3 separate regions of the Homo sapiens genome follow, and all the other regions are linked to region 1. The links are contacts of gene promoters, found by promoter capture Hi-C in blood cells and fetal thymus (Javierre and others, 2016). All regions are on one chromosome and are shown on one strand. Each heading gives the region's core, a stretch centred on a gene start or on the middle of the fragment in contact. The rest is flanking DNA. Distances are from core to core; before and after follow the strand shown.

Evidence for each region. Contacts are between HindIII fragments. The CHiCAGO score rates a contact against its expected background, and 5 or more counts as called.
Region 2: a fragment that was not itself captured here is called in contact with the fragment with the promoter of RFPL3S in region 1 in 1 of 17 cell types (erythroblasts); the score reaches 6.2 in erythroblasts.
Region 3: a fragment that was not itself captured here is called in contact with the fragment with the promoter of RFPL3S in region 1 in 1 of 17 cell types (M1 macrophages); the score reaches 6.3 in M1 macrophages.

What each region holds. Positions count from the first base shown.
Region 1 is chr22:32,369,772-32,372,960 of GRCh38, reverse strand. RFPL3S (RFPL3 antisense) reads left to right here and starts at 1,697. Exons shown (of 5, transcript NR_104232.1): 1 at 1,697-1,763; 2 at 2,020-2,062. The HindIII fragment of the contact is 20,480 bases long and covers 1-3,189 here.
Region 2 is chr22:33,018,017-33,021,205 of GRCh38, reverse strand. The region is part of intron 1 of SYN3 (synapsin III); the gene reads left to right. Among named protein-coding and RNA genes, the nearest start is that of SYN3, 39 kb to the left of the region's middle. The HindIII fragment of the contact is 2,293 bases long and covers 417-2,709 here.
Region 3 is chr22:32,983,256-32,986,444 of GRCh38, reverse strand. The region is part of intron 2 of SYN3 (synapsin III); the gene reads left to right. Among named protein-coding and RNA genes, the nearest start is that of SYN3, 74 kb to the left of the region's middle. RefSeq lists a silencer at 67-361. The HindIII fragment of the contact is 633 bases long and covers 1,364-1,996 here.

The DNA.
Region 1 (3,189 bases), core at 448-2,947:
AACACATACACATATAACTATAGTATCGTGTGTGTGTGTGTATAATTTGTGTATATACATATATTTGTTCAATCTGGAAGCCATTGAAATTTTCTGTTTATAACAACACAGAATGACCTATTCTTTCAGCACCTACCCCATTACACCCTCTGTTTTATAATCACTGGACAAAATATAGCATCATCTATATTAATGCAGATTGTATACATCATTTGTGACCTATTTATTTGTTCTAGAAATTTGTACTTAGCAATGATAGACATTTGTACTGTAATATTTATATCATGAAGGGTACCTATTCTCTTTGAAACATAGCAACTCTCTCATCTTAACCCTAAAATTTTCATTTGTTCTATTTATTTTAGGGCAGGTCACTTTCAACAGCTTGTTTTCTTGGGCATATCATAAAAGTATTTGCAATTGGGTGTTATGTATCAGCCAGAATACACACGTAGTTATACATTTTGAAAGTTATCTAAAATTCTGCATTCAGAAACACTTTAATTATATGTATTAGGCTGGGCATGGTGGTTCACGCCTCTAATCCCAATACTTTGGGAGGTCGAGGTGGGTGGATTGCTTGAATCCAAGAGTTGAAGACCAGCCTGGGCACCATGGAAAAACCCCATCTCTACAAAATATTAGCTGAGCATGGCGGCAAGAACCTGTAGTCCCAGCTACATGGGAGGCTGAGTTGGGAGGATCACCTGAGCCTGGGAGGTCAAGGCTGCAGTGAGCCATGATCAAGCCACTGCACTCCAGCCTGAGTGACAGAGTGAGACCCTGTCTCAAATAAAAAATTATATGTATTCACCCAAAGTGTTCACCCCACCGAGAAGATGCACTGGTGAAAATATAGTGATTTTTTTTTCCTTTAAATACTCAGTGAATGGCCAGCCGTTTACATACACAATGGTAGACAAATTCCTCTGTGAATTCACAAAGTTTGGGAGATAAATAAGTGCATAGTAATATATAGAGATAAGTGGAAAAATAAGTTTCATAATTATATTGTGAGAGAAATATGATTTTTATAATATCAAGTAACACTTTTTTCTAATTCTGAACAGTTTATTGCTTCTAGAAACATTAGATCACTCAGGAATGGTAGAAATATGACTTTTTAGGGAAATATGACTTTTAAAATGTGACTTTAAAAAATGTCACTTTTTAAGAAACATGACTTTTATAACAATATCCATTTATGCTGTCTTTAATTCTGAACAGTTTGCTTATTGGTTCTAGAAATATTAGATGACTCAGGAATGGTAGAAATATTTGGCAATGGAATTTCGAATCGAGAATGGAACTTCTGGTTGTTACTAACATATCGGTTTTGCCCCTGCTCAGTTTGAAATTCTTGCCATTGAGTGTATTTTGGGGTACACAATTTCTCCTCCTAAAACTTATTTTAATAAGCACAGAATAGTAATTAATGAGCTTGGGTTTTGTTGTTTTTTTTTTAAGTAAAACGCCTAATCTTTTATTTTATTTTATTTTATTTTATTTTTTTACGGAGTCTCGCTCTGTCGCCCAGGCTGGAGTGCAGTGGCGCTATGTCGGCTCACTGCAAGCTCCGCCTCCCGGGTTCACGCCATTCTCCTGCGTCAGCCTCCCGAGTAGCTGGGGGCTCCCGCCACCACGCCCGGCTAATTTTTTGTGTTTTTAGTACAGACGGGGTTTCACCATGTTAGCCAGGATGGTCTCTATCTCCTGACCTCGTGATCCACCCACCTCGGCCTCCCAAAGTGCTGGGATTACAGGTGTGAGCCACCACTCCCTGCCGTAAAAGGCCTAATCTTTAATGACCCTCCTGTGCGTGTGAAAGCACTCTTGTTGGTGCAGCAGAAAGCGGACCTCACAATACACATTGTGACTTTACCCTGAGACGTTGATGATGCTCCTATCACCATGGTTATGTGATTGGGTATATCTTGCCCTCGGTCCTAACTGCCACTGTCTGTGCTGAGTTTTTCAAAGTTCATAGCAGGTTGAACATGCTTGCTGTCATTTTCACAGATTCTGGTCTTTCTTATGGGGAACCTGAGTTCCTGCATTAAAGGTATGTTCACATTGGCCTGTTGAATGCTGTCCTCTCAAATGTACTAGTTAATATTTAAAAATATATTTTATTAAAAAATTCTCCTCTGTATTTTTCATATGCAGTTATAAATGTGTTTCCCGGTTATGTTTTATTCCTCAATTTATATATTTGATTCTAGTATCAAGCAGGATGCCTTTGAGCTTTTCCTTTATTTAAAAGACATGTCTTATTTCCTGTTACATCTGGCACCCCTCAAACCACCCAATTAGGTATCCTTCTGGGAAAAATATGGCAAAGTATGTTTTAATGCAGTTTTTACCTAATTAAGAACCTATTAAAATCATTAATTTTAAAAATTAGGAGCAAAGCTAGAATGATGCAGATGTCTTTGAGGCTTTTAACACAACGAAGTGTGTCCATCTTTGTCTTTTGTTGTTGTTTTTTTGTTTGTTTGTTTGTTTTTGAGATGGAGTCTCACTCTGTCGCCCAGGCTGGAGTGCAACGGTGCGATCTCGGCTCACTACAACCTCCGCCTCCCGGGTTCAAATGATTCTCTCGCCTCAGCCTCCCGAATAGCTGGGATTTCAGGCACCCACCATCATGCCCGGCTAATTTTTGTATTTTTGTAGAGACAAGGTTTTACCATGTTGGCCAGGCTGGTCTTGAACTCCTGACCTCAGGTGATCCACCTGCCTCGGCCTCCCAAAGTGGTGGTGTTACAGGCGTGAGCCACCACACCAGGCCCTGGCCTGTTTTTAGTATGTCTTTCCTCTCTCCTTTTTCATGAAATGTGTATTCAGTTTAGTAAATTTGGAATATGTCATTTATATTCACATATTAACTTTTTGAAAAGAAGTAAGAATGTGTATTGTCTATGTGTCAGTGTGTGAAACAAAACACACTTATTTTTATGATTGGGGTTTATCCAAAATGATAGAGATAACAATTATAGTCAATCACCCAAACCACTTACCTTTCCAAAGGTAAATATAATCAAGTGTAATCATTTTTTCTCATCCAGAGAGTAGTTCATATTTCAACATACAAAGATAGAGAAGTGAAATGAATCGGTAAACACTATTAACCAAGAACATACAGATTTACTCACACCAGGAAACACGTAGGTCACATACATATATGTAAAG
Region 2 (3,189 bases), core at 314-2,813, 650 kb before region 1:
GAACCCGTGACTTAGATGTCACTGAGCTGCAAGAGGCAGAGGTGGGGCTCAAAGTCAGATCCATGCCAAAGCTCATTCTCATGTAAATACTGCACCTGCCGTGTTGCCTTCCAAACTAACCACACTGTCAGACTTTCTGGCAATGGGAAACACATTGTCTAAAAAAAAATCGGAATAATAATAGCAGCTGACACAGATTGTTTACCATGTGCCAAGCACTGTTTTAGATACTTGGCATATGTTAAGTTGCAGGAACTCTATGAGGTAGGTACTATTATACCCATTTTGCAGATAAGAAAACTGAGGCACAGAGAGGCTAAGTAATTTTCTCGAGGCTTTGTAGGTGGTAGATAGCAAAATTGGGATTGGAACCCAAGCAACCTGGTCCCAGGATCCATGAACTTAACCTTCAAGCTTACTGCCTCTGTCTACCTGTGTCCAGCACCAGAGTGCTGAGGCCATTGTAGTCCTTAGCCTGGGTTTGGGAGGGGGCTTGCACTTGAAGAGTCCCTTTTATATAGGATTTGTTTTCAAAGTGGTATAGGTTGGCCTTTTGTATGACCCAATCTTGCAAAAGAAATTTCTCCCCTTTTGCTTGTCATGGTGCCCAAAGTATCATCAATAGAGTCACCTCAGTGAATCTTAAAGACTGAGCAAAAAGATTGCTTTCAGGCCTTATACCTTATACCATTGGAAGAATCATTTTAATAGCGTGATTGTATTGAGGTGCTGGTACTCTGGGCTGGGCATCTGGCCTGTCCTCCTCTTCAGACACCCTCTCTTATTCTTAAATACCCCATCTCCTATGTCCTGAGGCTTCTCTGAATTAGAGGCTCCAATGACAAGGTCCTGCCAAGAGATCTGATCTTAGGGGTGAGGTATTGAGAAGAAGAAGAAGTGAGGAAGATGGGTTTTGAAAGAGGTACAGGATCCAGAAATAAACCTCACCACTTTCTCCATTTTCCTAGGATTGGGTCTATGTGAACAAACACGTTTCCATGGTTAACTATTCAACTGAATACTTCTCCTCTGGAGGAATTAAATCTGAAGGTGTTTGGTTAAATGCTTTGGGGCCTCTATGTGACTGTGGGGCCTCTGTGTTCAGAGTCTCTAAGCATTAATGACTCTCAGGGATGGTTGAAGTCAGGAATAACAATTCTGCATCCTGATGATATTGTAAAGATACCACTACTAAAAACGATGTTTCATTACTATTATTTGTATAATCATTCATTATTTCAAAAGCACGTCTGTGCATTCTTTCATTTGATCTTCCCAGTAGCTTCATGTGGATTGCTAAGAATAAGCAATGGGGCTGGGCGTGGTGGCTCATGCCTACAATCCAAGCACTTGAACTCAGGAGTTGAAGACCAGCCTGAGAAACATGGTGAAACCCCTCCTCTACAAAAAATACAAACATTAGCTGGGGGTGGTGGCACGTGCCTGTAGTCCCAGCTACTTGTGGGGCTGAGGCGGGAGGATGCAGTGAGCCAAGATCGCGCCACTGCACTCCAGCCTAGACCCAGTCTCAAAAACAAAAGCAAAACCAAAAACAAACAACAACAAGAAAATCAACTGTAATAAATAAATAACAGCAGGAGCTAGTACATGTAGTGCCTGACATGTCAGGCCTTGCACTGTGTCACATCAGTTATCTCATTCAGTGTTCATATCAATTTGTAAAGTAGCCGTTATTTTTTATTCCTGTTTTACAGATGAGGAAACTGAGGCACGGAGGTTGAATAAGCCACCCCAACTCTCATAGATATTACATGAGTAAGTGGCAGAGCTGGGATTGGAACCAGAGTCTGTCTGCCTTTGAAACCTGTGCTCCCAGTTACAGGTTTCATGGCCTCTCTAGGTATCCAGGCAGTGAAGGAAAAGGGGAATAAGATGCAGTATTCCGGGCAGAGGGAAAAGTATATACAAAGGATATGGACTTTTGGAAGAGCATGACTCATTAGAAGAGTTTCATCCTGCATGGCCAAAGTAGCAAGGAAAACCTTGAAGAAGATGGCAATGATTAAGGTATTTCTGGGTTACAGTGTGTCCTTTATCCTAGGGATATGTGGAAAGTCACGAGGGGGCTTCCTCTGGTTAGGGTTGTAGTTTGGAAAGCTCTCTCTGCTCTGTGGAAAGTTGACTGAATGACTGAGCTTAGAGGGAGGGAGCTGATTAGGAGCCTGTTGTAATAGGCAAGGGGAGAGAGCTTTAGCAGCACGTGAACCAAGTCTATGGTAGGAATGATGGAGAGGAGGGGATGATGCTGAAGATGTTAGTGGAGACAGAGTTGACAGGACTTGGAGATTGAGTGGCTGAAACTCACCAGGGTTAAGGAGGAGCAAAGTGTGAGACTTAGGTTCAGGTCTCAGTGAGTGGATGGGTCACAGGGTTCCGGAAGTGGGGAACCCAGGTGCATAAACTCATCTGAGGGTGAGCAAGGAAAGAAGTTTGGGGTGTCAATGAGTCACCCAAGCAGACATGTCCACTCTCCTGTCCAGGCTGATCAGTGGCTCATCTCTTCTCAAAGTAGCTGTTGCCGCTGTGGGGCAGCTCTCATTCCTCCTGCTTTGATGCAAAACGTATCCTTATGATTTTCACCTTACTTCTGGTTCTGGCTTCACCATCAAGTATGGAAAGTCTTTCATCCTTTATTTAACCTTTCCCAGTGAAGTTTTTCTTCATGCCACAGCCTCCAAGAAGTAAGCTTGCAAACTTGCCTTATAAAGTCTCTTTTTCTGTCTGGTCTGGTCACTCCTGCCCTCTAGTGGTTAGTGCTAGGGCAGCATGGGGCTGGGTACCCACGGGGCCTACTGGGTTCTATCCCAGCCCGTCTTCCCTGCCTTCCTGTCTTTTCCTAGGCTTTCACCAGAATCCCTCTCATCCGCACCTTGTCTTGCCATCAGATTAAGTTTGGCATTGGAGCGATATCCTGTGTCCTGTCCTAATGATTCAAGAGGAAAAGACCTTGAAAATTACATAATCCAGCTCCCCACTTTCACATCTGTGGACCAAAATGACTACAACGGCCTTCTAACCTGTCTGGCTCCTTTCATAGACACATCCTCTAGGTCTATTTCTACACAGTGGCCAGGTAGACCAGATATCCCTCTTGTCTCTAACCCTCCAATGGCTTACTTTCACAATTGGCTTCAAATCAAAATTGATTTCAACATGGCCCTTCATGAT
Region 3 (3,189 bases), core at 431-2,930, 610 kb before region 1:
TGCCAGGCCCTGCAGTAAACATTCCAGAGATGGGCAAAACAAATGTTTCTCCTGGGAAGGTGAGGTCTCATCAAGACCACAGCTGCTTGGGTGGTATTGGTGTAGTGCAAAGTGCTTCAGGTTCCAGGTTAGAATCAAGTCGAGGAATGCCAGTTGCGAAGGTTGGCCTCGTACACACCCCCACATCGCAGTGGCTGTAGACCTGTGACTGTATTACAATGGTGTGCCAGTAGATGGCAGTCAAGTGTCTCCAGGAAAGGCCGGCCTACAGACAGTATTTCCTTACCCGGTCAGCGAACATTTGTTAAGCCTGTTGTCCTGTGCCCTAGCTCATTGTGCTGGATACTGGAGACACAGTGAGCATGGAGACTCAGTTTCTGGTTTCCAGGAGCTCACAGACTATATGTTTGGGGGCAGAGGGCAGCTAAGTGATGTGTAATGACAACGTGAAGTGGTAAGGGCTGGAATGGTTGTAAGTGCAGCGTGCTGTAGGAACCAAGGGAGGACGCTCAGCCCAGCTAGGGAAGGGGGTGCTGTCAAGGAAAACTCAGCAGAGTAGATATCACTCATAGGATCTTGAAACATGAGAAAGAGACAATCAAGGAAGTGCCAAGCAGAGGTGAAGGCCTGTGCAGAGGTTCAGAGGCAGGACAGCACAGGAGTATTTAGAGAAGCACAGGAATTTGGATGCAACCATGAAATAGACAGCAAACTGGAGGGGAAGCAGACCCCCAGTCAGCAGGGTCCAGATCATGAAGGACGCCAGGGCTCTGGACTGGATCCAAAAAGTCTGAAAGACCACTTAGGGTCTCCAGGAAAGGTACCCAAATTCTTCCCTCTAGAGTTTGGGTACCCAGATCACTCGTGTGACTTTGAGCAGAGACTTCTCCATCTGGAACACGTTGGGAGCAATCCCTGCCCTACCACCCCTCAGGGTTGGCATGAGGGTCAAATAGGAGGAAGGATGTGAAGGGTCTGGCTGTCCTTATAGGCCAAGGCCACCTCTTTTCCCCATCACCAGCCATCACTCCTTGCACCTGTGAGACAGATCAAAGCAAGGTGAGTCATAATTCTGCTTTGGAACCCCCAAGAGGGTAAGATTGTTTTGTTTATTTGTGGGTCCCCAGCACACAGCACCCACTAGGCACAGGGTAAGCACTCGATAGCTCTTTGCTCTTGTGGATTCTGTTTCAGGCCATGGACTACATACTTTGCAGCTTACTGTGTGCCAGGAACTATTCTCAGTGCTTTGTATGCCTTGTTTCATTTAATCCTCATAACAACCCTGTGAGGTGGCTACTACTATGAGCCTCATTTCCTAGGTGTGGAAACTAAGGCATTCAGAGGTTGGCTTACCCAAGCTTGCACAAGTGAGTGGAGGAGTTGGGGTCCTATCCAGGCTGTATGCCCTGAAGCCATTGCACTTTACTGCCTTGTTGCATAGAGGATTATGTGACTTTCTCACCACACCCTTCCCTGGTAGTTACTGTCACCACTTGACAAATGAGGAAACTGAGACCCAGAGGGCTAAGTGTCTTGTCTTAGAACACATGGTCAGTGAGTAGTAGAGCTAAGATTTTGCCCAAGCCTGTGTGATTGCAAATCCATGTTTTTTTTCCCAGTATGCTGGTGATTGTAATGATAGGTTACCATTCCCGGTCCCAGGCCCACCCAGTACTTCTTTTAAATTTGGAGCTTGGATTTAAAAGCAAGTGATTTTTAAATCCACGAAAGATGCCTACCTTGGATCCTGCTCTGGTCCTTATTAGCCACACCTCTCTTGACAGGCAGAGGAGTTAGGAGTGAGGGGATATTCCCACCAAGACCCTACAAATTGCACTCTTAGGCCATGCCCTGGGTACCCAAACTCTAGAATTCCCTCCTCAAAGGGACCTTAACCCAACTTCAGAGCCTATATAGGCCAATTCCTTGGTCCATTTTCCAAGGGGTGGCCAAAGGACAACCATTTGGGGAGGGGAAGGGAGTAGATGAAGCTTGGCCACGTGGTCTGGGCAATCCACATACCCGCACCAGGAGCCTCAGTGGTGCAGAGGAGAGTGGGTGGGGAATTAAGGAAGATCTTGGGTGAGGTCTGAGAACCAAGAGCTGGCAATCCTTGTGCTGCCACGTGCTGGGTAGAGTGCAAAGAATTCTGAGAAGTTTACATTCTGAGTCTTTAAGGTCATTATGAAATTGTATCTGCCAAGGAAGGAAGACAGACTCTTTGGGACTCTTTTTTTCTTTTTTCTTTTCTTTTTCTTTTTCTTTTTTTTTTTTTTTTTTGGATGGAGTTTCATTCTTGTCGCCCAGGTTGGAGTACAATGGCGCAATCTTGGCTCACTGCAACTTCTGCCTCCCAGGTTCAAGCGATTCTCCTGCCTCAGCCTCTCCTGCCTCAGCTGGAATTACAGGCGCCCACCACCACTCCTGGCTAATTGTTTGTATTTTTAGTAGAGATGGGGTTTCACTATGTTGGCCAGTCTGGACTCCAACTCCTGACCTCGTGATCCGCCTGCCTCAGCCTCCCAAAGTGCTGGGATTACAGGCATGAGCCACCATGCCCAGTGGACAGATGTCTTTTATTTAAATGTTTGCTGGCTTGATTTTGTCAATTTTAAATATTAGACATATGACCCATAGGTTTCCATTTGTCGCTTTGCCCCAGGCACTTCAAATACTAGACATGGGCTTGTCCTGGTGTCTGGAATTTGCTGATACTACCTTTAAGGATTACGATAAAATTCACAAACTGTATGAAAAGATTCTCTTTGCATGAGGCTGTCCACATGGGTATTTATTTGAAGACCATTGCTGAAAGAAAAAAAAAATCAAAATCTTGCTTTCGAGTCATACTAATAGTTCCTTTCCTACTAAACTACCGCCTAGTTGACATCTAAGCCCATCAGGACGTAAGAAAAAGTGGTGCTAATATCAGAGCTGTCAGTCAGTTTTGGGAAGAGATTAACTCCACCAGCATCAGCTAAGAGTAGGTAGAGAGACTTTGGAAGCAGACAGGCTGAAGCAGTTAGTGAATTTGTAGAAAGGATTCTTTCACAAATGGAAGGCTGAAAAATAATGGGTGATGACATCCATCTTCCAAGGAAAAGAGTAGGAGACTAAGAAGGTTGTTTAATGCTTAAAAAATTATCCATTAGAAATAAATCATGTGGCTGCATCCAGCTGATGGGA